6 separate regions of the Homo sapiens genome follow, and regions 1, 2, 4, 5 and 6 are each linked to region 3. Evidence: promoter capture Hi-C in 16 types of primary human blood cells and fetal thymus (Javierre and others, 2016). All regions are on one chromosome and are shown on one strand. Each heading gives the region's core, a stretch centred on a gene start or on the middle of the fragment in contact. The rest is flanking DNA. Distances are from core to core; before and after follow the strand shown.

Evidence for each region. The method cuts DNA at HindIII sites, captures the fragments that hold promoters and counts their contacts. A CHiCAGO score of 5 or more calls a contact.
Region 1: a contact is called between a fragment that was not itself captured here and the fragment with the promoter of PTPRN in region 3, in 7 of 17 cell types (erythroblasts, neutrophils, M0 macrophages and 4 more). The highest score is 8.2, in erythroblasts.
Region 2: a contact is called between a fragment that was not itself captured here and the fragment with the promoter of PTPRN in region 3, in 1 of 17 cell types (neutrophils). The highest score is 5.0, in neutrophils.
Region 4: a contact is called between a fragment that was not itself captured here and the fragment with the promoter of PTPRN in region 3, in 5 of 17 cell types (erythroblasts, naive B cells, naive CD8 T cells and 2 more). The highest score is 6.6, in erythroblasts.
Region 5: a contact is called between a fragment that was not itself captured here and the fragment with the promoter of PTPRN in region 3, in 16 of 17 cell types (fetal thymus, activated CD4 T cells, erythroblasts and 13 more). The highest score is 10.0, in fetal thymus.
Region 6: a fragment that was not itself captured here is called in contact with the fragment with the promoter of PTPRN in region 3 in 3 of 17 cell types (erythroblasts, M0 macrophages and naive B cells); the score reaches 8.4 in erythroblasts.

What each region holds. Positions count from the first base shown.
Region 1 is chr2:219,120,106-219,124,894 of GRCh38, forward strand. All of the region lies in intron 5 of NHEJ1 (non-homologous end joining factor 1), which reads right to left. Among named protein-coding and RNA genes, the nearest start is that of NHEJ1, 38 kb to the right of the region's middle. The HindIII fragment of the contact is 1,821 bases long and covers 1,139-2,959 here.
Region 2 is chr2:219,137,154-219,141,544 of GRCh38, forward strand. All of the region lies in intron 5 of NHEJ1 (non-homologous end joining factor 1), which reads right to left. Among named protein-coding and RNA genes, the nearest start is that of NHEJ1, 21 kb to the right of the region's middle. The HindIII fragment of the contact is 1,670 bases long and covers 678-2,347 here.
Region 3 is chr2:219,308,134-219,312,648 of GRCh38, forward strand. PTPRN (protein tyrosine phosphatase receptor type N) reads right to left here and starts at 1,268. Exons shown (of 23, transcript NM_002846.4): 1 at 1,085-1,268. The coding sequence starts at 1,199. The HindIII fragment of the contact is 26,349 bases long and covers 1-4,515 here.
Region 4 is chr2:219,093,311-219,097,516 of GRCh38, forward strand. All of the region lies in intron 5 of NHEJ1 (non-homologous end joining factor 1), which reads right to left. Among named protein-coding and RNA genes, the nearest start is that of IHH, 34 kb to the left of the region's middle. The HindIII fragment of the contact is 607 bases long and covers 1,957-2,563 here.
Region 5 is chr2:219,157,481-219,161,925 of GRCh38, forward strand. It overlaps NHEJ1 (non-homologous end joining factor 1), which reads right to left and starts at 3,335. Exons shown (of 8, transcript NM_024782.3): 1 at 3,240-3,335; 2 at 706-882; 3 at 1-204. The coding sequence starts at 882. SLC23A3 (solute carrier family 23 member 3) reads right to left here. Exons shown (of 12, transcript NM_001144889.2): 12 at 3,985-4,445. The coding sequence ends at 4,429. RefSeq lists a silencer at 3,000-3,119. The HindIII fragment of the contact is 2,637 bases long and covers 1-2,569 here.
Region 6 is chr2:219,074,512-219,079,255 of GRCh38, forward strand. NHEJ1 (non-homologous end joining factor 1) reads right to left here. Exons shown (of 8, transcript NM_024782.3): 6 at 3,578-3,695; 7 at 2,735-2,853; 8 at 1-1,944. The coding sequence ends at 1,870. Among named protein-coding and RNA genes, the nearest start is that of IHH, 16 kb to the left of the region's middle. RefSeq lists an enhancer at 2,373-3,572. The HindIII fragment of the contact is 2,383 bases long and covers 1,818-4,200 here.

The sequences.
Region 1 (4,789 bases), core at 799-3,298, 190 kb before region 3:
ATATATTATGCTGCTGTACCATTCCTATGGTCTTCACTCTGGGCAAACATTCTAATATGTAGTAAGTTCACTGAGCAGTCACTTCATCTCACAAAGATACTTTTTCATTCATTTAACAATTTCTACAGCCCCTATTATATGCCAGCCACAAACTGGAGGTACAGTGGTGAGTGAGTCACACAAGGTCCATACTCTCAGAAAGGCTACATTCTAGGATCATTTATCTGACTCAATAAGGTAGTGTAGCAATTTCTCATTCATCTTAAAGAAAATGTAAGTGAATAGCAAAGATCAAGACAAAAATATAAACAGGCTTTGGAAAAAGGCAAAATGAAGAAATATAAGAAGAAGGAATCAGAATAGGGGGCAATGAATGAGTATATAAAAAAGTGTTAATATTATTCTTTCTGGCTATGTTTTTTCCCTAAACCCCATTCCTGGACCTAACTCTAGGAACTGCATGCCAGTGTCCAAGGTCAGCTTCCTCAGACCTCAAGATTTACAGGTCTTTGTAGAAAGAATGAAGAAGAGGCGATATTTATTCAATACCTAGGATTGCTAGCTTAAATTATATGCAAGTATTTCCCCCAAATGTCAACTTGGGAAATATGTGGGGCTCCATCAAGTATACTGCCATTTGTAGAAGAGAGAAAAGTCTCTGATCGGCCCTAGTATGAGCCAATAAATCTAGGGAAATAGAGAGCCACCAAATCTTAGGGCTAGCCATGTCCTCTCCTAACCTCGTCCTCTAATTGTTCCAAGCAGGACTCTACTATACTGATCATTATGTAAAGAATCTTAAAGAAACAGCTCAGGTACAGTGGCTCATGCCTGTAATCCCAGCACTCTGGGAGGCTGAGGTGGGTGGATCACTTGAGGTCAGGAGTTCAAGACCAGCCTGACCAACATGGTGAAACCCCATGTCTACTAAAAATACAAAATTAGCCAGGCATGGTGGTGCATGCCGGTGCATGCCTATAATCCCAGCTACGTGGGAGGCTAAGGCACCAGAATCACTTGAACCCGGGAGGCTGAGGTTGCAGTGAGCCAAGAATGCGCCATTGCACTCCAGCCTGGGCAACAAGAGCAAAACTCTGTCTAAAAAAAAAAAAAAGAAATCTAGGAAAGGAGTTCCCAAAGCTTCCCTAGTAACATAATCTAGTCAGGTAAAAATTCTCTCTACTTCAACTACATCCTTATAATTCAAGTTTATCCCTTCTTGTACTATCTTGAGCAAAATGCAGGAAAGCTATTTACTATCCTATATGTGTTAATTTTCCATATTTAAAAGAATGAACTACCATTCAATCTACTCTCTGAATTAAATAATTCCATTGTCCTTGGATTTTTCTTATTTATCCTATGTCCACCTCTTTTATTATTGTTCTGATTTTTTCTATGGGCATTAAGGCCCCCGTGCATCTTTCACACGTGACATCAAAACCTCAAGAGCAGCTGGACACAGTGGCTCATACCTATAATCCTGGCACTTCGGAAGGCTGAGGCAGGTGGATCACTTAAGTCCAGGAGTTTGAGACCAGCCTGGGCAACATGGTGAAACCCCATCTCTACTAAAAATACAAAAAATCAGCTGGACATGCTCCTAGCTACTTGAGAGGTTGAGGTGGAAGGATCAGTTGAGCCTGGGAGGTCGAGGCTGCAGTGAGCCCTGATTGCACCACCACACTCCAGCCTGGGCAATAGACCCTATCTTAAAAAAAAAAAAAATTAAATTAATGAAAATTGTTTAAAAACCTGAAGAGCTCAACTAATGCTAAATACAATAGTAGGGTGGCTTGGGGTTTTCATGCTATTCTTTTAATTATAGTCTGGAATTATATTCATCTTTTTAAATACCCAAAATATACCAAGAACTATATCGCAACTGGGAGCTCTTACTAGTTAAATCTTTCAAGAAAAAAGGTGGGGCAATATCTCCCACCTAAGGAGTAGAAGACCACTTTATAAGCAAGAAGTTCTATTCAACAAGAGACTAGACCACAGGGGAACCATCTGACAGCAGGAGCAGCAGCCACGGCTGGTAAGTAGGGAGCCCAGGAGGGTATTTACAGCCTTGTGGAGGGTTATTCAAGAAGTCACAAAAATTTTACTTTACTTTCCTTAGATCCACGCACCTTTCAAGAGCTCCCTGGGGATCTTTCACTAATTTCCCCACCAGGGAATGACTTCCTCATCTGTCCTCACTGAGCACTTCATGTTTGTCTTTATTACAGCACTCTTACTTTGGTAAGATAAGTGTGTGTACACCTATCTATCTCATTTTCTGAGCCATATGCTTCTTGGGGGCAGGAATCATGTTAGTTATCTCTGTACCCTTGGCACAGTAAGTACTTAAATATGTTAGTTTCCTATCCCCCATAGTACTGGTACAAGAACCTAAACCCAGTGGTATTCAATAAATGCTGGATAAGGATGATAACATTAATAACAGCCATTCAGCACAACTCCACTAAGTTGTCAGACCAGTTTAGGATATTGGCATGAAAAATGCTTTTTCTCCTGGCCCAGACATTTACTCTTAAGATTTGCCTCCTCCTCAATAGACTCCAGGAAATAGGGTTAGTTTTAAGTTCTAGAAACTCTAATCATTCCTGTTTTCTCCAAACTAAGGGCCTGAAGGAAGACTGCAGATACCTCATGAATATTGATGAGCCTCTGCGGTCACATGAATATTAACAACACCCTGTGGCTTTCGGGAACAGCAGCCCAGCTAGAAGGTCTAATATTAACCTTGGCTAGGCCCAAAAAGTAGAAAGCGCATATGCCCATACATCCCCATGGGGAGTAAAGAGTGGATAGCGGAGGCCAGTTTGGAGCTTGGCCCCTATGCAAACACTGGGCACACAGGCAGTTAAGAAAGAACTAAACATTGTGTCCTACGTCCCTGGCACTGGGGGGCTCTGTTAGTAGCTACCCAGGCAGGAATCCCCAATTCTCAAGCTTTGGAGAAGTTAGGATGTAGAGGCTAAATCATACTCAATTCAGAAAAACACTGGTAGGGATACACTGACCTAGTTCAATAGCTACAGTAGAGGGGTAGGAAAGGTTGACAGTCAGATCACATAGGACAAAAACCAGAATCAAATTACAAGGCTCAATTAGGCAACAAAGACATATTTTGTAGATCACACATTAACAGTAAGTAAAGTTCTATAGACTGGAGTTTCCAGCCCCATACCCTCCCATGAGACTAGTGGACACAGAAAACAATGACTGAGACTTAAGCGGAAAGCTATTCTACGACTGATGCAGTGAGAGACAGAAGGAGTCAGAATCTTTTTCCACCTACAGATCCTCAACCCAGGAAACATCAGAAAGAATGATGATCATTATTAAAAACAAACAAAAACAACAAAACAAAAAGTACTGTGAATCAAAGTTAACCAAAGAAACCCATGTACGCCTAGCCCTGGGTCTAAGTTCAAAATCTACTTCTATGTCACATGACAGAACTATTAAAAGGAAAGGCAGGTTAAGTAACCCCATGCAGTGGCTGGAATTAATGCTAATAAGATTCCTGCTGTACTCATCCACCAAGACAGACTACATTTAAAACTAGAAAAGTGCGTCTTTACTCCTCTAGCCTGATCCTACTCAAAGGCCTTCACCCCTTAGCTCTGCCTGAAAAGCTGATCCGACCCCCTTTACCCACACTCAAGAGGAACAGAGAGGCCTGTAGGCCTAGCCCAAGCTGAGGTGGTGAGAGGCCACACCTAGGAAGAGGGTGGGGGCTACTCTCAGGCGCTGTGTTCTGTCACACAATTACCATATTATGTAGCTCTAATAAAAAGAAATACTTGAAGTTTTATTAGTGCCATATAATAAAGTATTTATAGAATCCTGGCGGTGGGGGCAGAGGTAGAGAGAGGGAGAAGGAAATAGGAGGAATCGAAATTGTTAGCAATAACCCTAGCAATGGCAGCCCCCAGCATTCGCCACCCTGGGTAAACCTCAAAGACTTCAGCCTGGGACATCAGGCCAGCTGTCATCAACCTAGATCAGCATGGCTTACTGTTCACTCCCTCTACAACAGTCCGTCTCTGACTTCTTCCTGGTTAACAAAGAAAGAGGTGAGGAACTGGGAGGAGTAGGGAAGAGGAATAAAGAATTGATATCAGCAAAACTGTGGAGCCTAGGCCTGAAAAGGCTGGGAAGCAGAGGAAAGCGGGCATCAGTTGAAAGAATGAGTGGAATGTAAGCTTTAAAAGGTTCCATTCTGGAGCTAAATTTGAGTTCTCACCATCCAGCATATCTGACCGTTTTGAAATTTGCCCAAACAGGGTTTTCCATTACTGCACTGGCCCCTTCTGCACACCTCTCATACACCCACTCCAACCACACTCTCTACTCACCACCACCACCACGAGAGGAGTGCACCCCACACCTACTCCAACCACATGACACACACCCACACCTTCTCCCACACCGCCCCTCCTCACACATGGTCCTCACAGCCACAGTGCACACACATACAACACACTCACCACAGCACACTCCTTCTTAAGGCTACCAGCTGCCTGCATTTCCTGGGCATCTTCCCAACTTAAGACACATCCTAGATAAAAACATTTTCGGAGTCTACAACACTCTTTAACATTTTAAAATTTTCTATTACCCAGAAAATCTCCCCAAAGAGAGAGAGAAGTGAGGGCTGTGACATTATTACAGAGAAGACTATAAACAGAACAAATATAGTGCTGCTTTATTACAAGGCAGTGTGGGGTTGGTGGCTGGCTGATTACAGGGCCACTCCCCAGAGCTCTCTGCA
Region 2 (4,391 bases), core at 263-2,762, 170 kb before region 3:
AGAAAAAACAAAATATAGTTGAGAAACATGCACAGCCATACCTTCCTCCCTGGAGATTTTCATTCCAGAGCTCAAATACTGGTACATTCATATTTTCAGTAAGGAAAACAATTCTTTTATATGCCCACGGTTAAACCGACCCCACCCATGATCTTCCTAGTCTATCAATGGCATCACTATTCTTCAAATCACATAAGCATATGACCAAGAGCCTAATATTCCTAAAGATCACCTTCATATGTCAATTCTCCAGTCAAAACTTTCAATGGCTTCCCACTATCTGCAACAGTAATTAATAAGTGCAAGGAGAATGTGCCCCATCTCCCTCCTAGGAGATGTGTCCCCACTTGAGAATCACAGCACATAATGACAGTCGTTAACAATTGAACTAAATGGAGAAATAAATGTGTTACAGGCAAAAAAAAAAAAAAAAAAAAAACAAAAAAAACTGAAAACCACCTTCAGAATAAAACACTAATCTGCCAGCCCAACATTTAAGGCCCCCACAATTTAGCCTCAAGTTATTATCTTGCTAACTTTATTTTCTACTAATCCTCATCCATTCTTATTCTTATTTTCCATCCTTTGCCCAAGTGCTTCCCACCTAAAATGTCTTCCACATAGTTTTCAATCAAAGCCTAAATCAAAGCCCAGTTCACGTCCTGCCATTTATAGAAAGCTTTTTCTAATCACTCCACTACTATGGCCCTTATTATCATTCACTAAGCACTATAAGCTCTTTGATGGCAATATTATCATACCTTATATGCTCACAGAACCTCATTCAGCCCGCATGCACCTGACCGAATACCGAAAGGATGAATTAACTGCAAGTTTTTCTAGGTCGGAGAACTGACACACATAATAGGAGGGAGCATATTCTCATGCATCTAGACTTATCCTTTTTTACGATGCCCACATGGACACTAAAAAAAAACCACCCTGAATCCTATGGCTTTCTCTACATATTGAACAACAGGTACATGGTAAAAGGGTAGCCCTTCTAACTGTGGAAGTGGAGCCCTTGTGACTCTAAGACTAATTTTCTTTCCAGGATTTTGTTAGGTACTTATTCTTTTGACTTTTGAGGTGTTAGTCTCTTAACTGGCTCTAAAAAAAGAGAGGTTCTGGGATTTCTCAATAATAAAAGATTCAAGGTTTATATACACTTCATCCCGAAGTTGGGACTGCCTTTCAGAAAACATAAATGTCAAACAAATAAGGCAGGTGGTAGAATGGGAATATAGGCTACTCATCTATTTACATGTAAGGCTGCCTATGTCTAAGGCTACCAATAGGTGATTATTTGCTGGCCTATTCATAAGAGGAGGAAAATAAAAAAGAGTGGGAAGATATGATTTCTTCTTCTATTCAACAAACACTTATAGAGTGCCTACTATGTGTGGAGGCACTGTTCTAGGCACTTGGGCTAGACCAGTGCACAAAACATACATCTTTGTCCTTGTTGAGCTTACATTCTAACAGACAGGAGATAGACCATAAACAGTAAGTATAATAAAATAAGTAAATTTTATGGCAATATGTTGGAAACTAGGTGCTATAGAAAAAATAAAAAGTAGAGGATGGTAAGATGAAATGGGAGTGCTAAGGTGCAGGGGGGACAAATGGAGCTTACAACTTTAAATGAGTAGTCAGGGTAAACTCTATTGGGAAGGTAACATTTGAAAAAAGACATTGTTGTAGTCCATGTAGATGGATGTAGTCTATGTAGATATGTCTCCAAATTCTTTGACACAGCTCCCCTTAAGAGGTGAAGTTTAATTAATTACCTTCCACTTAAGTGTGACCCAGACTTAGTGACTCATTTCTAATAAAAAGAATACAGTGAGATAGTGATAGAATGTAACTTCTGAAATTAGGTTATAAAAGGACTGCAGGTCCATTTGGTCTTGGTTTCGTTTCTCATTTTCTTTTCTTTTTCTTTTTTTTTTGAGACAGAGTCTCATTCTGTTGCCCAGGCTGGAGTGCAGTGGTGTGATCTCAGCTCACTGCAACCTCTGCCTCCCGGGTTCAAGCAATTCTCCCACCTCAGCCTCCTGAGTAGCTGGGATTACAGGTGCATGCCACCATGTCCAGCTAATTTTTGTATTTTTAGTAGAGACGAAGTTTCACCATGTTGGCCAGGCTGGTCTTGAACTCTTAACCTCAGGTGATCTGCCCGCCTCAGCCTCCAAAAGTGCTGGGATTACAGGCATGAGCCACCCCACCTGGCCTTGGTCTTTGTCTCTTGGATCACTGGCTCTGGAGGAAACCAGGTCCTGTGAGTAGCCCTATGGACAGGCCACATAGCAAGAAATGGCACCTCCTGCCAACAGCCACATGAGAAAGCTTGGATATGAATTATCCGGATGTTACAATGACTGCGTTACCAGCTGACATATTGACTGCAACATCATGAGAGACACTGAGCCAGAATCACACCCACTAAGCTGCTCCCAGATTCCTGACCCTCAGAAACCATGCAAGATAATAAATGTGTTTTTGGTTTTTTGGGGTTTTTTGTTTTTGTTTTTGTTTTCTGAGACAGAGTCTCGCTCTTTCGCCCAGACTGGAGTGCAGTGGCACGATCTCGGCTCACTGCAAGCTCTGAGACCTCCCAGGTTCACGCCATTCTCCCGCCTCAGCCTCCCAAGTAGCTAGGACTACAGGCGCCTGCCACCACACCCGGCTAATTTTTTGTATTTTTATTAGAGACAGGGTTTCACCGTGTTAGCCAGGATGGTCTTGATTTCCTGACCTCATGATCCATCTGCCTTGGCCTCCCAAAGTGCTGCGATTACAGGCGTAAGCCACCGCACCCAGCCTGTTATTTTAAGCCATTAAATTTTGGGACAATTTGTTACACAGCAATGGATAACTAATACAGACTTTAAGGAAGTGAGGAAGTTGGCCACACAAATATCTGAAGAAAGAACATTCCAGGCAGAGGGAACAGCCAATGTAAAGGCCTAAAGGCAGTGTTAGAGTGTTAGAAAAACACTTAAGAGTGTTAGAAAAACAGCAAGAGGCCAGTGTGGCTGCAGTGGAGTGAATGAGGGAGGAAGTTGTAGGAGATGAGGTCAGAAAGGTAAGAGAGTTCTATAAGATCATATAGGGTTTTATAGGCCATGGTAAAGTCTTTGGATTTTACTCTATAAATGAAGTGTTAAGCCAGTGAAGGGCTTTGAGCAGAAGAATATCACGATGTGCCTTGCAACTTAATAAGATAGCTTTGTTGATAATAGGCCAGGAGGGGGTAGGAGTAGCTGCAGGATACAAATAAGGAGGCTTTTGCCATAATGCAGGTAGGAGATGATGGTGGCTCCAGTATGGTAGCAGCAGAGGTGAGATTACGGGCATAGTTTTAAGGTAAAGCCAACAGGATTTCCTGATGGACTTTGGCTGTAGGAAGTGAGAGGACAGCAGTCAGGATGACTCCAAGGTTTTTTCACCCAACTAAAAGTGAAAGAATGAACCTTCCATCAACTTAGATGGGAGGGGGTTGTTGGAAAAGTAAATCTGGGCATACGACTGGAAGTTCAATTTTGGACGTGTTGAATTTAAGATATTTTTTAAACTTCTTCATGAAAATGTTAAACAAGCAGTCTGGAGTTTCAGGGTAAGACCTACAGTGAAGAATAAATGTGAGATTCATCCACAAGGTGGTATTTAAAGATGTTATAGTGGAATGCCAGAGGAGCAGGCTGAAGATGTCAAAAGGATCAAATCATAAATGATCACGTGTGGCGTGCAAGGAGTTTGAACTTTATCCTGTAGGAAACCGGGAGCCACTAAAGGACTCTGAGCAAAAAGTGTCATAATCAAGTTTCAGTTTCAAAGACATCACTCTGACAAAACTACAAATTCAACTGCAGGGGAATAAGAACTGACCAGGAGACAAGTTAGGAGGCTGTTGCATGGTCAAGCCAAAAAAGGGACAGAAAGGCCAGGAACAGTGGCTCACACCTGTAATCCCAAAACTTTGGGAGGCCAAGGCAGGTGGATCACCTGAGGTCAGGAGTTCAAGACCAGCCTGGCCAACATGGTGAAACTCCATCTCTACAAAAAATACAAAAATTAGCTGGGCGTGGTGGCTCAAGCCTGTAGTCCCAGCTACTCAGGAGGCTGGGGCATGAGAATCTCTTGAACCCAGGAGGCAGAGGTTACAGTGAGCCGAGATTGTGCCACTGCACTCTAGCCTGGGCAACAGAGTGAGACTTGGTCTCAAAAAAAAAAAGCAGGGGGGGAGTGGGGGAAAAGGGAGAGAAAAATGGCTAATTTCAGACAACGGGAGGTAGAATAGAGAAGATAGGCAGATTCAAAAGACGGTCAATAAATTAGGCTTTGAAAGTAAGGACAAAGAGGAAAGTGAGTGACTCCCAAATTTCTAG
Region 3 (4,515 bases), core at 18-2,517:
GCAGGAGAGGTTTTGGCCAAATTCTGAAAGAGGAATTTCCTTCCCAAATATGGAAAAGCATCCTATAATGGCCTGGAACTCAGAAGAGGTTCTAGCACACTTCCCCCGGTCGGGGGAAAGAGGGCATGGGTGGGGCTGGGGAGGGTGTCTCTTAGGCATCTCTCCTCGCGCTGTCCCGAGCCGCTGGCGCTGTCCGCGGTGCTGAAGCTCTGAGTCTGGCGCCGCCAAGGGCTGGCCTTGGAGGCGGTTACCAGAGAGGAAGGGGTCACAGAGCGAGGACTCTCCACTAGACCTGAGCCCTCTGTTGTATTCTGCCAACCCACAGCGTCACAGGAAGTACTCTGCCTCTCGGGCCTCCAAGCCCGGGTGGGGAAAGAGGGCGCCAGGCGGCGAGGCTGCGCCCCTTCCCCCACGCGCCACCCTCCCATCCCCCACCCCCTGTCCGTGAGTCAGCGCTGACTGTCTCTGTCCGCACAGATGTGAGTCAGCACCAGGCCTGGCTGTGGGGAGGGGGACAAGAGAGGACCCTCCCCTCTTCATCCTCTTCTGCCCCCTCCCCGTGCTGTCCCCCGTTACAGGAGATCAGATCGCTGCAATCAGCTTCTCTAGGCTTACGGAGAAACCCTGGCCTCTCTCTCTGCCCAGCTGGGACTCTATGTCTGCGGCCCAGGCTTCCACTGCCCAGAGATCACCGTTCCCTCATTCTCCCCGCCACCTCCCCTTCCCATTCCTCAGCGCCTGTCACCACCTCCCAGGCGCCTCGGAGCAAGTGGCTTCTCCTGTGGTCTCGCAGCCGGTCTCTAAGTCCCTCTGCCCACATGCACCCCGTGTCCTTCTCCCGAACCTGCAATTTTCCCCAGAGCCCAATTCTCTTAGGTCCCGCCCCCGTATTCCCAGCCCCACCTCCAGGCCTACGCCCCTTTCCTCCGAGACGCCCTCTCACCTTCCTCATCTCGCATGCCTCCCCCAACCCATATTCTCCCCGAGCTTCATGACATTTCACCCTCACCCCCACCGAGTTTCGCTCCAGGCCCCAAGCTGCTCCCCGCCCCCCACCACCCGCCAGCCCAAGTTTCCTCCTGACCGTGGGCACTAACGGCGCTGCAGCCCCCCGGGCGGCTGCTCAGCAGCAGGAGGCAGAGGAGCAGCCGGAGACCCCCGGATCCCCCGAGACCCCCAGGCCGCCGCGGGCGCCGCATCTTTCCGAGCTCCGGGCGCTCGCTCCCGGGCCGGAGCCGCAGCGACGCTGGCGGGAGCCTGCCAGAGGGGCTGAGGCGGGGCTTGCCGCTCCCCACCTCCCTACGAGGCGGGGTCTACATGCCCCTCTCGCTGCAACGCGGCCAACCGCAGGCGGGTGCTGACGACACCTCCACCCCCGGCTCGTAAGCTAATTTGCGTCACATATGGCGTAAGAGCCCTGTCGGAGCGGGGGACCTACCTAGCCCATCCCTCCTCCATCAAATAGTAGGCGCCTCGCTAGAATTCCCACTTGGCCCCATCCCTGTAGCCCTCTTCTAGGATCACCTCTGTCTCCCCGCCCCAGGGTGGGTGAAAAGGGTTAAGTTAAGTGGGGGGCCAGGAAAGATAGGTGGGTCCAGAACGATAAACCCGAAGACAAGAAGCAGAAAAGTGGGTAGAATAAGTACTCTTACTCATTGTCATTGAAGATACTGTTCTCTTCCTTAAGAAAAAATGGTTAGGCATGCCTAGATTCCAGTTCTAGCAGGGCATCTACTAAGGGTATGACCTTGGGCACCTTGTTTAACTTGTCTGCGTCCAAGTTTCCTGATCTGCAAAGTGGAGGTGTTAATAGTTACTACCCGCCTCACACAGTGATTGTGAAGATTTTGTTCGTTACACTAATATGGATCACTTAGAAGGATGACTGGACTGGTGCATACTACATGCTCCATACATATTAGCTGTCATCATTAGCTTTTATTTATTTTTTATTGAGATGGAGTCTTGCTCTGTTGGCCAGGCTGGATACTGGCGTGATCTTGGCTCACTGCAATGTCCACCTTCTGGGTTCAAGCCATTCTCCTGCCTCAGCCTCCCTAGTAGCTGGAATTACAGGCGCACAGCACCTTGCCCGGCTAATTTTTGCATTTTTATTGGAGATGGGATTTCACCTTGTTGGCCAGGATGGTCTTGAACTCTTGACCTCAGGTGATCCAACGGCCTTCGCCTCCCAAAATGCTGGGATTACAGGTGTGAGCTACCGGGCCTGGCCTCATCATTAGCTTTGACTCTCCTTTCTCTCCGTCTGTGCCACCTCGAGGCTATCAATCATTTTATGGTTTCTCCCTGCAAAATACATCTCCCATCAGTCCACTTCTGTCCATCCTCACTACCTGAACTGAAACACTGTGCTCTTTCACCACGACCACTGCAGCAATCAGCTAGTAACTGCTCTTTTGCTTCCACTCTAGTCATCCAATAAGTAGGGGAGTGAGCTTCTTAAGTTCAGATTTGATCTCCTTCCTCTCTTGCTTTCCAGTAAAATAAAATAAAATTTAAAAAGGACAGAAATGCATAATGAATACTTACATACTCATCATCCATACTTAATGGTTATTGATGTTTTACAATATTTGCTTCTTTTTAGTATTTAAACATGAATGATAGACATCATGACATTTCTCTTCTAAATATTTCATTATGCATCTCCAAGAAATAAGGACATTTTCCTGCATAACCTAAGTGCTGTTATGACACCTAAAAAAATTTACAATAATTCCTTAATATAATTTTTTAAATTTTTTTTTTTATTTTTTTGAGAAGGAGTCTTGCGCTCTTTTGCCCAGGCCAGACTGCAGTGGCACTATCTTGGCTCACTGCAAGCTCCCCCTCCCAGGTTCACGCCATTCTCCTGCCTCAGCCTCCTGAGTAGCTGGGATTACAGGTGCCTGCCACTGCACCCGGCTAATTTTTTGTATTTTTAGTAGAGACGGGGTTTCACCGTGTTAGCCAAGATGGTCTCGATCTCCTGACCTCGTGATGCACCCACCTCGGCCTCCCAAAGTGCTAGGATCACAGGCGTGAGCCACCGCGCCCGGGCATTCCTTAATATAATTTAATGCTCAGTTCATATTCAAATTTCTCAGATTGTTTCCCCAAAAATGCCTTTTCTTTTCAGGTGTTTTGTTCAAAATAACAGTCAATTAAGAACAACCACGGCCTTTGTTATGTTTCTTAATCTCTGTAAATTAGCATAGACACCATATCCTCTCTCCCCTCCCCCATTTTTGACATTGTCATGTTGATAGACCAGGTCAATTTTTCTTTAGAACTCTTCTTCTGGGTTTATCTGATTTTTTTCTTCATGTTGTATTTCCCTGTATTTCTCCAGTGTATAACCTGTATATCACCTGTATTTCCTGTAAACTAGAAGTTATATATGAAGTATTGACTGTATCAAATTAAAGAATTTTTAAAGCAAAATGCCTCTCATTGCATCATTTCAGGAAGTACATGATGTCTGACTGTTCTATTAGTGATGTTAAAATTGATCACTGGTTTAAGGTAGAGACAGCCAGATCTCTGTATGTAAAGCTGTGGTTTTCTAATGTGACCAGCATGTAATTCTTGGATGATACTTTGGCACTGTGAGACTATCTAGTTCCTCATCAACTTTTCACCTAATGGTTTCACTATTCACTGGTGATCCATCCTTGACTAAATGATTTCATTAGAGGTTGCAAAATGGTGATTTTTATAATCCTATCATTCAATTCACGTTTATCGCTTATTTTACTTTGTAAAGAAGGGCTTTCTCTCATCAACTGGGTTTAGTTTACACTAAAATGCAATTCCAACTGGAAAGGTAACATATATTCTCAGCTTTTTCTCTTTACCCTTCTGCAAAATAATGAGTCTGTGTAGTGTAGTGACCTCTAACAGTGACTAATACATTTTTAAACATTTATTTATTTATTTAGAGTCAGGGTCTCACTCTATCACCCAGTCTGGAGTGCAGTGACAAGATCATAGCTCACTGCAGCCTTCAACTCCTGGGCTCAAGCAATCCTTCTGCCCCAGCCTCCTGAGCAGCTACCATTGTGAGCAACCATGCCTGGCTAATTTTTTTTTTTTTTTTTGTAGAGGCCAAGCACAATGGCTCATGCCTGTGATCCCAGCACTTTGGAAGGCCGAGGCAGAAGGATCACGTGAGCCCAGGAGATTGAGACCAGCCCGGGCAACATGACGAATCCTTGTCTCTACAAAAAATACAAAAATTAGCTGGGCGTGGTAACACGTACCTGTAGTCCCAGCCAGGTGTGGTGGCTCATGCCTGTAATCCCAGCTACTCGGGAGGCTGAGGCAGCTGAATTGCTTGACCCTGAGAGGTGGGGGTTGCAGTGAGCCGAGATTGCGCTATTGCACTCCAGCCTGGGTAATAGAGAGAGACTCCGTATCAAAAAAAAAAATTTTTTTTAATCCATTTTTCTGCTGATGGACATTTGGGTTGTTTCAGGTTTGGTAGTATTATGCATAATGCTATTGAGAGGTGAC
Region 4 (4,206 bases), core at 1,010-3,509, 210 kb before region 3:
GCAGGATGAACAATCAGTAAAGAAGTCAGGGCACTATCTGAAACTGTGCATCTTTAGGTTTAAGGAGGCAAGGACAAGAGGGATATATAAATGGCCAGAAGAAGAATCCTAAGCTATCAGAGGTCCTCTTGCAAAATGTGTCTTAAACAGATTTTTGATATTATTGGCAGGGGAAAATTGAGAGGGATAAACTGTGCCCTGAACACAGAATGGTCAGTGCCTAAACTCCCACAAGACAGATGTAGATCTGGGGCCACTTCTGTGGAGAAGGGAACAGAATGACCTTCCAGGCCTCTCCAGCTGCTCTTCCCACTGTTTTTAATACCACTAAGGGCAAACAGGAAAGGAGAAGTGACTGGGAAAGGAACTGAATGTTACTATTAATTAAATGTTTAAAAATGCAGTTGAATAGTGGGTATATAGTGTTTGCTTTATTATATGTTCTATTGTGTGTATTAAATATTTTATAGTAAAAATATTTTAAAAAGACACAGTGAAACCAAATCAAACCAAACACACAAATGGAAAATGAAATTACTTAACACAACATCAGCAGTGACTACTGAAGTCCAAGCACGGAACGTGTGTGGAGGAAATCTCCAGCCTGTGTCAATGCCTGGTCCCACTAGACTCCAAGTTTAAAGATGGGCAAGGATTCTGAGGAGAGGCTCTAGAGAAAAATTAGTAAGTTCTGGATACAAAGTCACTTTCCAGGAAATCAAGACTGGCAGGTTTTGAGGTGAGGAAGTCGAAGGGACAGAAGGTCAACTGCTAGGCTTGAGTTATCGGCCACCAGTTTAACTTAAAAGACTCATTCTCAACAGGGTACCTGCCTAACCCATGGCTGGGGTGGTGATGGAGGGATCTGATCTGATCTAAAATGTTAGGATGACCCTAACATCCAGTGCCTGGGGAAAATTAAGCAGGACTTACTAGCCATTAAAAAGATCCCAGAAAAAGATGGAGGGTAGGGAGAAAAAAAGAACTGGAAATTAAGATATACTTCAATTCAGACCTCCCACTCAGAGCAGGAGTCTGGCAGTACTGTGGAAGCGGAGGTTGTGGCTGGGTGCTGGGAGAAGGGGACTGGAAAAAGAGAGAAGTACGAATCTGCAGAGGAGTCAAGATAGGCTTGATTTGGAAGAAGTTTTCCTAAATGGATATGATCAGGCTTGAGGCTAAGAGCTACTTCCTGAGACTTCTAGTTCCCCGGTTCAGAATCTCTTCATCCCTGTCCTCACTCCTGGCTATAGTCCAGGTACTCTAAAATGCCCAGATCATTTCTAGGTGTAGTACATCTCACACTCTTTTGGATCTAGGTTTCACTAAGCAGGAGAGAATGCCCTGGTTACTCAATTTAGCATTTCCTAACTGATAATCTCTCCACTTCCTTGCAGGAAGTTATAGCTGTGGGTGTAGGATTCCCACTGAGTGTGCTAACCCCCTATCCTCAGGCTCACTTAGGAGGCACAAACAGGCAGCCCTGACACCAGGCTGACCCTACGCAACAGAACAGCACTCCAGGGTTCATCTCCAGGTGAGGGGATGAAGGAAAGACCAAATCTAGGCTCTGGTTACAGGGCATCTTGAACACCTGCTAATAATAAAACATTATCTGTCAAGGCCTTGACCCTCCAAACCACCAAAACAGAGGAAGAGGGTGGGAGAGGAATTTTAGTCCCTCTGATTTTTACCCCAGGTAATAACAACACCCCACTCCATCCCAAAGGCCACTAGCCAGAGTAGAAGAGCACCTAGGAGGATCTAAAGAAAAGACTGACCAAGGTATGTGGAAGACTGTATTGGTCCCATCCTAGAAGGTGGGCAGTGGGTGTGGCTAAGGAAACACTTGGCTAAATCAGCTTTCTTCCTTTCCCACTTCCATTCAGCCTAACTACCGACGTGGCTTTTGTAAGATCTGTGAGACAGTATGTCAGGGAAGACAATGGAAACAAAAGCTTACCATGATAAAAAGAGACCGATGCAGCATGTAGAGTTCTAGGCCAATATGCCGGGTCTCCAGTTTTGATGGGTATATCTTTTAACTGAGAGATGATAAATTATTTAGTTAGTAGTAGTCCTGACTGTTAAAAGATCTCACCATCAAGTTCTTAGCATGTGTTTCTGGGTGATATTGTACAATGCTTTAAACCTAATGGTCACTTAATAGCTGTCTCCTTCCCATATCATTCCCCATATAACTGAAACCTAAGTTAAAGACTCCTTAGCCTCTGCCAACTTCTTGTGGCCAGGCCTGGACTACTTCAAGGAAGCCCTTACCACAGGGATGAGAGCTCACAGCCAATGGGGAGAGCACCATCCATAGCAGGGATTAGTTTCTTGATTAAATTCTTAAGAGCCTAGGATCTAGTTCAGGGAGGAGGGGTATGGGTACTATTATAAATGCAATCAGAGAGCTAAGGGGCAGGTTTCAAAGTACACAGGAAATTCAAAACATTTTCCAGGAGGTAATGAGGAGGACTGAAAGCAGAAAACCAGATAAAAGCTGGCGAAGCAATAAATGTATCCATTTGACAACATCTGAATTGGGCCTAGGTAGAGAAGCTTTAAAAAAAAAACTGGCAAAGGGTAAGAGGCTTGATAAACCAAGATTTAGATTCAGGGAAAGAGGTGGAGACTCATATTAAGGGGCTCCTAGATACAAAGCATTCTACATCATCAAGAAACATTTCCTAAAACTCAACATCAAAGCCCAGAAATCAAGGAATCAAACTTAGAGAGGGCCACTTGGAGAAAGGATACATGGTTTTCTAAGATTTCCTTCTTTCTAAATAATTCAAGGCAGGAGGAAAGTGAGAGGACCTATCTCTTGCTATTTACGTATTTTTTAATTCTTTGAATTTTTATTGTATAAAGTTGATAGAACTTTGCAAGACTAATCCCTCAGGAGAAGAATACTTGAGGACACAGGAGAAAAAGAGTTGGCAATGACCTGGGAAAGATTCTGTAAACATAAAGTGCTGTAGAGATATATGAAATTACTACTCAATTGACTCAGATTTTCAGTCATTTTTGCTCCGCAATCATGCCTAAAAGTAGACAAGTATTAATTCAACAGGTATTTATTGAGGCCCTGCTATGTTCCAGGTACTGTTCTTGGCTACTGAGAAACAAAAGTCAACAGAACATACAAAAATCCCTGCCCTTGAGGAGCTTATATTATAGCAGTCAAACACCATCAATATTACAGTTATGTTAGGAAATGTTCAATGCAATGGGGGAAAAAAAGAGTAGGGTGAAGGATTGGGAATGTAGGGATGAAAAGGTGGGATGCAATTTTAAATAAAGTGATCAGGGTAGGCTTTGATGAGATGACATTTAGCAAAGATTTGACAGTATGGGAATTAGCCTATGGATATCTGGGGCACAAGTGTTGGGAGCAGAGGGCATAAGACAGGAGTGTGCCCAGGGTGTTAAACAAAACAGTAAGGTGACCAATGTAGCTAGAGTGAAGTGAGGGAGACAAAGGTGGTAAGAGATGAGGTCAGAAAGATTATAGGGATCAGGTAAGAAGGGGCCTTGTGAGCCACTGTGACAACTGTTTTTACTTAGAGTAAAATGGAATCCCTTGCAGAGTTCTGAGCAAGGAAGTGGCATGAACTGACTGAGAACTTTAAAGAATCACTCCAGCTTCCAGGTTCAGAAGAGATTATAGACAGTTCCTGGCTTATGATTTTTTTGGCTTTACAATGGTGTGAAAGTGATATGCATTCAGTAGATATTCAGGGATATTCAACATTTCATTATAAAATAGGCTTTGTGTTAGATGATTCTGCCCAACAGAAGGCTAATATAAGTGTTCTGAGCATGCTTAAGATAGGCTAAGCTATAATGTTCTATAGGTTAAGTGTATTCAATACATTTTCAACTTATGATATTTTAAACTTACGATGGGTTTATCAGGATGTAACCCCATCATAAGTCAAGGGACATCTGTATAGGAGAACAAGGATGGAAACCCAGAGACAACTGCAGTCCCCTAAGCAAGAAATGATGGTGGCTCAGACCAAGGTATTAGAGCAGAGGCAGATTCTGTATTTATTTTGAAAGAAGGGCCAATAGAATCTCTTGATGGATTGGATGTGGGGTATGAGAGAAAGACAAGAGTCAAACATGACTCCAAGATTTATTTGTTTCAGACACAGAATCTTGCTATATTGTCCATGCTGGATTCAAACTCCTGGG
Region 5 (4,445 bases), core at 1-2,500, 150 kb before region 3:
ACTAGCTAGCATGCAGTGGAAATTCCAATAGAAGGGGAGGCCAGAGAGCTCACTTCGCACCCGTAGAATCAGTGCATCTGCCACACAATCACAGGAGAAGGTAGCTTCGCTAGGGTGAGCAGCGTCCTTCAACAATGGGCGAAGGAGATTATCCAAATGACAGAGGAAAGCTGCAGGAGGAGCAGTGAGCCGCTTGTTCAGCTCCTAAAGAGAGAGCAGTGGTACAGAGTAAGGGTGCTAAAAGGAAACTAATTCCCTCATAAGTAACAGCAAAGGAAAGCCCTGGTTAACACGAAGGCAATGGACATGAGAGGAAGGGGAGAGAAGATAAAAACATCACAAGGGGAAAGAAGAAAACAAAAAGAAGAGAGTCACAAAGACCAATTGGCCTACTTCACAATTCTGCCTTGGGCAAGATTAAATCACAAAAGGCCTATCTAGATCAAATAATATATTCATTATCATGCATAGGGTAGGGAAACTAACTTTCTTTCTCTCTCTCTCTCTCTCTCACACACACACACACACACACACACACACACACACACACACACACACAAAGATTCCAGGCAGAAGTACAGGTAGAAGTACAGGACATTAACTGGAATTGTCTCAACCCGATTCAACCTTCCTTGGGAAACTACAGGCCAGCAAGCTGGTTGATGTTCACATCCCCGACACAGCAGTACTTCTCCTCATACTTACCTTGGCTCGCTGGCTGACCACACTAGTGTCCACCTGTTCATGCCACACCTGTTGAAGATCTGAAACCAACAAGGCATAGCCCTGCTTGGTGATAAAAACCTTGGCCAAGAGGGAGTTCTCTGCAAGCTGTAGCCACGCCCATGGCTGCATCAACAGGCCTTGCTCCAGTTCTTCCATCTGCAAAAAAGTCCTCATTTAGTAAAGAGCCTCAGGGTCATGCTGGCCTAGGGAGGGCACCACCCAAACCAGTCTGTATCAACTAAAATCTCATGAAAATCCTCCCTGATAAAATAGAAGGCATGGATTTACGTTCTCCCAGTATACAACCAGCTGAGCACTGACTTTACTACCTCCTGGCCACTAAAAGTATATTTAAAATCTTGAGGGTTTTTTTTTTCCCATATTACATTCCTAGAGGACAGAAAATCTTTCTTCCATAGTGTTTAAACCTCAGCATATTGCTGTTAGTATTTCTGCTTTCTAATACTATAACATAACGTGGAAACCTAAACCCTTCTTGTTCCATCTTTATCACATTCCTAATAAATATGTCACTCCTATCCTTTCCCAGAACTAGAAGAGAAGGAATAGTTCTTGTCTTATAAAACATCATAAGTCATAGTGTCAGGGCCAGGAAATTCGAAGTATTTGATCATTATCTAAAAACAAAGTTTAGGAAGCTCTCAGGATTTTTTTAAAAATCCCTAAAACAGGTTCTTAATCTAGAGTCAATGCATGTGAATCCTCTAGAATTATATGAAAATGTTATGTGTACACGCATATATGCATGGGGAGGGGGAAGAGGTCTACAGCTATCATCAAACTCTCAGGGATCGATGACACAAAAAAGAGCTAAGAACCTGTGTCCAGGAGCAACAGAAAAGACCTAAATTTCATTTCAACAAAAACCAGAATGACTAGGAAATCATGAATACAAGGCAGAGCACATCACAGAGGTAAAGACTGAATTAACTTCCACTTAACTCATCCTCCACATTCCCACTCCAGTGCACTGCCACCAATGACAACATGCCCAGCCTGGAACCCCTGCAAAACAACTTTTCTATCTCAGCAGCTAAAGTAGTAGGCTTAACCTAGTAGACAATCAGAACTACGGCTGCTTGACAGAGAATGTGATTGTTTTTCCTGTGGGGGAGAAAAAAATATGTCAATTTCCTTCATTATTCCAGTCTACAAATATAAAATGAACAGAAGTACCAGGAAGGAAAAATTTAGAATGTAAATAATGAAATTCCTTATTAAGTCTGATTAACACAGTCATTTCCCCTAGCTTTTGAAGTGTGCCCTTGTGACTTGTGACATAACTTTATATATATATGCATATATATATGCATATATATATATGCATATATATATGCATATATATATGCATATATATATGCATATATATATATGCATATATATACATATACGTGGTGATCTTTCTTTATGGCATCCTCAAAGCCTTGTGTTTGGAGGATGGTGTTTCCGTCACATTTCCCACATGCTGCTCTTATGGGGACAGAAGTGGTCATGGGATGATTAAGCTAGTCCTAGCCGGACAAGAGCTCCACAATGCCAAAGGTCACAAACGCGAATAAAGTCGCCACTTTCATCTCCCTTATAGGCACTCCCCAGTGTACTCTTAACAGTTGCCAAAATTGGGTTTACTATTCTAGCCCATTCCTTCGGAAAGCCCGGAAGCTCAGAACCCTCAAATTGATGGGTTTTGTTTGTCTGTTGGGTAAAGGGGGAGGAGTTTAAAATGTGGCCAGGAGTAACGGGCCCTATAAAAAGGCCTGACACATTGGGCACCAGACCCCGGCTGCCTGCTCCCACCACACGCGTCCCGTTCTGCGTCCGAAGCTTCTACACTTCATCCTTTTCTTTTTTCCTTCAAGGCTGCCTCTAACATTCACATTAACGAGATTCACGGGTTTATTTCTCTTGAGTGGAGGGGCGCTGAGCGGCATCCCGGCGGAGGGGTCCCTTGAGAACCTTTATCTGCACCGAGTCCGCTCCTCAGCAGTGACCCCTCTGGGCAGTTCCTCCGACGCCCTGCAGAGGGCAGTAGAGGCCCAGAGAGCATCCCGGCTGGGCCCCGCCCGGTCCCCCTGGGACAGCGCGAACCCTAGGTCCCACCACAACCATAGCCCCACCCCAGGAGCCGCCAGGCGTCCCGCTTCCACCCGCCCCAGCTATAACAGCCTTCGCTGTCCGCCTTCCCATTTCTACAGCACTGGCTGCACTGGGGCGCGGCTTCAAGGGGCAACAAAGCCGGCCACCAGCGGCTTCGTCGCACCAAACAGGCGACCAACGAGTACCTTCACTCGAGCCCTACCATCCACGCCGGGCAGCAGCCAGCGGACTGCGCACGCGCGGCCCCGCCCACCCCTCCCCCGGAGGCCTGCCCTGGACCCCGGCAGCGCGCGCTCCCTCCAGGGAGAAAAGGCCAGCGCCAGGGCCAACCCGCAGCGTCTGAGCAGCCCCTCGCTGGCTTGCTCCTGCCCGGACTCGAACGCGATTCCACCTACCGTCAGCGGCCGCGAGAGCGCCCACTCTCTTAGCCGCACGCACGCTTTCCTGCCCGCTCGCGCAAACCGAAAGGCCTAGAGTAAGAGGCCGCTTTCCCCCCACCGCAAGAGGAGGCAGGGTCTTGGGATACAGGGGCGGGGCCTATGCCTGGCGTGGGCGGGGCTTCTGGGCCTGGGACACTGATGAGAGGAGCGCCCCAGTGGCCAGGGTAAGTGGAGGAGAGGCCGGGCAGCCGGCTAGTAGAAGGGTAGTGGCGCGTCTTGGAGTCACGCTGGCCGAGTGGAAAGAATAGCGGGCGAGGCGCAGGAGAGGGGAGCCCAGGTTTGGATTTGTCAAACTTGAGTCACTTCTCTTCCCTCCCCTACCTATCCGGTCTCTTTTTAACAAAATAAGGGATTGAACTTCTGTAGATGATCTCTCAGGTCCTCCACCAGCACTAGAGTTGTTGAAGGAAGGAGTCTCCCAGGCATAAGTCCCATAGTCCGACCTCATCCTTTACCTCTCCTGCTTCATTTCTCCATCATCCCCGTACTTATACTCCCTCACTACTGAGAAATTTGAAACCCCTCACCTATCTTGGACTTTGTACAACCCATGGCTTTGCTCAAGCTGGACCCCGAACCTGAAAACTTCTCTGCATCCATTTTCCAAAACCAAAAATCCTCATTTGTCAAGGCCATCCTCATTGCTTCTTGCATAAAGCCTTTCCCACTGTCCCCAATCAGAATTCATTATCCCTTCCTCTTTGCTCCCACGGCATTATTTTAATCTTTATTACAGACTGCTTTCTGCTTTGCATTTTCGTTAGTAATTACAAAGGTCTTTTTAAACCGTAAATGCCTTGAGACGGCATGGACCCTGTCTTATCCCTGTAGTTCCAGGACCTTGCACATGGGAGATGCTCAGTAAGTATTAAAGTGAATGCTGGGGTTCAAGTGGCATTGATAGTACACAGGCAAAATCTCAATCATTCATGGTCCACTAAATCATGGCCTCTGCTCTGGAACAGTTAGGCCTAATTAAGACAAGGAAAGGCAACCCACCCTATTGGGAAATGGAACCTCTAGACAGTCCCATGTAATACACACACACATATCCTCTGCCTACAAGAAAGAACAGTTTGGGAGCTGACTCTCCAGCAGATGAGAGTTAGGGCTAAATTAACCAGGGCAGAAGTAGGCGTTCTGGTCATTTCTGGGACCTAA
Region 6 (4,744 bases), core at 1,759-4,258, 230 kb before region 3:
GGCAGGTAGATCACCTGAGGTCAGGAGTTCGAGACCAGCCTAGCCAACATGGTGAAACCCTGTCTCTACAAAAAATACAAAAATTAGCCGGGCTTGGTGGCAGGCATCTAATCCCAGCTACTCGGGAGGCTGAGGCAGGAGAATCACTTGAACACAGGAGGTGGAGTTTGCAGTGAGCCAAAATTGTGCGATTGTACTCCAGCCTAGGCAACAAGAGCAAGACTCCATTAAAAAAAAAAAAAAGTAACAAAAGAGCAAAGTAAGCCAGCTGATAGGCTGTTTTTATATAGTTCCCAATTCACTTCGATGACAGTCACTACCACACAGCACACTCTAGGGTCCTGTGGTCTGGGGGTAAAGAAAAGTTATCAGCAGTGACTGGGAATGAGCCTTGGTGGAGATCTCAGACTCTGCTAGCAGGAAAAAGCATGAGGGTAAGTCCTGGAGTCCTCAAGAGCTCCTTCCTTGAAGAGCCCCTGGGGAGCAGACATCCTATTGAAAAGAGGCAAGGTCATGGGATAAGGAGGTTTACAGTGGGAGACTGGAAAGAAGAACCTAATGTCCTTTCTGGAAAATAAATGTTTTCATTAGTGTATATAATAATGCTGTTAAGAACTCAGCTGTCTGGGCTTAAATTCTGGCTGTCACTTATTAGCTGTATGACCTTTGATAAGTCACTTACTCACTTCAGGATCCAATTTCTTAATGGGTTAACAGCATCTTCCTCATATGATGCTATGAGGATCAATGTCAAGTGCTCATTAGAGTAGCTGGTATACATTAACTGCTCAATAAATGTTAGCTATTTATTATTGTTGTTCTTATTATAATTATTTTATTATTGTTTGATCATCTTCTCTCGAGACTTGACATCAGGACAGAAACGCCAGTATATATACAGGATATTTGAATAAGGAGGCATTTAACCATCGAAAGTAAATAAACCAGAAATTGGATAGGCGTGGTAGCTCATGCCTGTAATCCCAGCACTTTGGGAGGTTGAGGTGGGCAGATCACTAGAGTCCAGGAGTTCAAGACCAGCCTGGGCAACATGGCAAAGCCTTGTCTCCACACACAAAAAAATACAAAAATTAGCTAGGTGTGGTGGTGTGTGCCTTTAGTCCCAGTTATGCAGAAGGATGAGGCGGGAGGATTGATAAACTACCCCACGTGGTAGTTTAACCTGTTGCCTATACTTTGGAAACAAAGAGAAAAATGCATCCAAGTTTGGCAAAGGAAAGCAGCAATCACCTATCTGTCTTGTGCCCACCATCAAGAGAGTTCTTGAGATCAAAGTTTCCAAATGGAGACTTAGCTCTGGCAACTGCAGAAAAGTTTACGAAGAATCTGAAGGACCAGACTGATGGCTAGACTTCATCCAGAGACAACAATGGGGTGGGACCCAGTGAAGGAAGTGAATTGGGTTATGAGTTCCACAGCATAAGTAATCCCAAAAGCAGGGACTGTGAGTGCTTTTTATTCCATGCAAAAGAGAGAAGTGGGTCTCTGAGGAGTATCTGGGGCTGGCTGGCTAGAGACGCTAGGGAAAGGTAGACAAGGCTTCCTGAGTGTGTGGTGCTTTCTTGCTGACTTGCCCTATATACCTAAAGTCCATGGTAGAAACCTGAACCTACAGAACCTCCACCAAAAGAGAGGAGAGCACGGGATTCTCAGAGACTGGCTTCCACTTGAACAGGGAAGGCCAATTCCCTGTGGGCCTGTCAACATCAACTTCAGTTCTCTCGCCCTTACAGGAGGCCTCTGACTGTATCACTATTTTAGAAATATTGCTGCCATGTAAGCTTCTTTCAAGGTGAAGCTTGGAAGCTGTTCTCCAAGTCCATCCTCAGCAGCTGAGGCCACAACAGATTAACTGAAGAGACCCCTTGGCTTCTTCCTCTTGACCTTTGACAGCTGAGGTCTCTGCAGAGGGCCTGAAGTACCCTAGAAAAAAGGGAACCCAAGTTAGTAGGGGTTTTGAAATAGTTCCACTGAAATTAGGAAAGGAACTTTCTTCCTCTCATGGCTCCTGGTTAGGATGAGGCCTTTTTTTTTTTTTTTTTTTTTTTCCACCCAGGCTGGAGTACATGGGCACAATCAGAGCTCACTGCAGCCTTGAACTCCTGGGCTCGAGCAATCCGCCTGTCTCAGCCTCCAAAGTAGCTGAGACCACAGGCACATGCTGCCATATCTGGCTAATTTTGTTTTTTGTAAAGATAGGGTTTCACTTGGTTGCCCAGGCTGGTATTAAACTCCTGGCTTCAAGTGATCCTCCTGCCTTGGCCTCCCACAGGTTGTGATAACAAGCATGAGCCACCATGCCCAGCTACAAAGAGGAGGCATTCAGGAAGTGTCTGACATAGGTATTTTGAAGTCTATGTCAGACAGCAAATGCGATATAAGACCCTAAGCAGGAGATGTAGATTCCCTTCTCCCCCAAGGAATAGCCTCGCTGACTATCACTGGTCATCACTGGCCATCACCGGAAGTGGGATAAGGTGAAAGAGGAGTCAAGGCACATCATTCGTACAAGACCTACAGAGAAGGGACACCAAGGGAAGATGTGCAAGACCATGACTCTCCATCTAGACACCTACAATTTGGAGCCTGGTCACAAATATCCCTCAATATTTTTGAGGCAGTGCCAATGAAGCAGCAATTCCAGGGACCACTGGCTTGGGGGCTATAGGTGCCAACTCTCAGAACACCATCCAGGAAGCTGCTCATGACTCACCGTGGACTCTTTCTCAGGTGCTGAGAGGGTTGGGGCTGAGGAGACCAGTTGTTCTGGCTGGTTTACACATTGGCTATCGATTCCTTGCAGGGAAGCACTGTTTGAGGTATGAGGATCTCCTGAAATCAGAAAGATCAAGAGAAGATAGTGATAAATGCCTTCTTCTTACCAGGAAGATATTAGCATTCACCAAGCATTCTGATAAAGGCCAGGGTTTGGTACAAATATATAAGCAGACAGAAGTAGCCACAAGTCCAACTTCCAGCTGACTTTCAGAAAGTCCTGTTTCTGCTATGAAGATCTCCCCAGGCCCACTTTCAGCAGGTAGGATGAGAGTTTCCTCGACTCAAAACAGCCAGCTGTTCTTCTACATATTCCCTCACATGTCTCAGGTATGGAGATTAATTTTTTTTTTTTTTAAAGAGATGAGGTTTTTGCTGTGTTGTCCAGGCTGGTCTCAAACTCCTGGCCTTTCCCACCTCGGCCTCCTGAAGTCCTGAGGTTACTGGTGTGAGCCACTGCGCCCAGCCAGGGAAACTAATCTTTCTCCTGGTTCTTTTGCTAACCCTTCTAAGTACCTAGACCAGTGCCACCCAATCGAACTTTCTGCAATGATGGAAATGTTCTGTGTCTGCATTAACTTGGTAGCCACCAGCCACATGTGGCTACTAATCACTTGAAATGTGGCTACTGCAAAAGAGAAAATGCATTTTTAGTTTTATTTCATTTTTATTAATTTAAACTTAAATAGTTATATGTGGCTAGAAAACTATCATATTGGACAGCATAAACCTAGATCCTAATTGTATCCTCACACAGACCGGGTACCTCTGGAGGGCTCACCAGCGCCTTGATGCTTCTGTCCCACTTGGACCTCTTGTGTGGTGACTGCCATATACAGATCCTGCAGATTCATGACAAAGGGCTTTCCATCACCAATGCTGCATGCCTCTGGCAGTTTCTGTAAGAGAGAGGAGATACTGTCATTGGTTACACTGTATTGCTAGAGAAGCGATCTAATACCCCACATGCAGAACCGGCATCAACCCCAAATGAATTAATATAAAGCAGTTAGATCCAATAGGGGGCGACCATATCCAAGCCTGGTGGCAACCAATATAAAGATTTCTTGGGACATCTCCTCTGAAGGGCAACTCCAAATGTATATCTTATTTCCCCTAATCCTTAGGTCTATTATGTTTTCCCATGAATACCCTATAGATTTCTAGGCTCTTTTTCCAAAGGGATGATTTCTTAGAAGGCTATTTTAGGAAATTATTTCCCCTAAATTTTCCCTGAGCTGAACAAATTACTATTTTCATTAAATTCATTCATAAACTAGAGAAAAATGATAAAATTCAGGATAAAGGAGAGAGAGCAAAATGGTAATGACAGACTGAGAGGCAAGAAACAATTATGGAGCTGTGATGTTCAGGCAGAGGAGACAGGAAAAACAAAGCTGACAAAGCTTTTGAGGCCCCCGGCCATTTTCCATTCCCCACTGCTGTCCCACCCTCCTTTACTATCACCCACATGCTCACAGTGGGCTGGCTGAGATTCCCCCAAGGGAGTGAAAACTGTTCTTGAGGGGTAAAAAAAACTGACTCTTTTAAAGTATAAAGCGTGCACACACACACACACAGTACATAAATAGATTTTTTGGTATACCTGTGGCATTAAAATTTCCTGATAGGGAGTGATTAGGCAAAAAATGTCTTAAAAGGTTCCTTAGGGAAGTGATAATTTTTAAAAGGCTGAGAAACACTGCTATGATTACATTATATTTATCTGTTTCCTTCACTACAGAATGAACTGTGGACTTACATCCACAGCAAAATACTTTGCCTAGTTGTAGTTTCATACACTTGGCTGAACTGCGTTGAGGTAATGGCTGAAGACTGAACAAAGTGCGATAAAAATGAGATGAAAGAGTAGAGTGTCTAGTGGTCCCAAACCTGGCTGCACTTCGGAATCTTGGAAAGGGCCCAGAACTATTTCACCTGTCCCTAG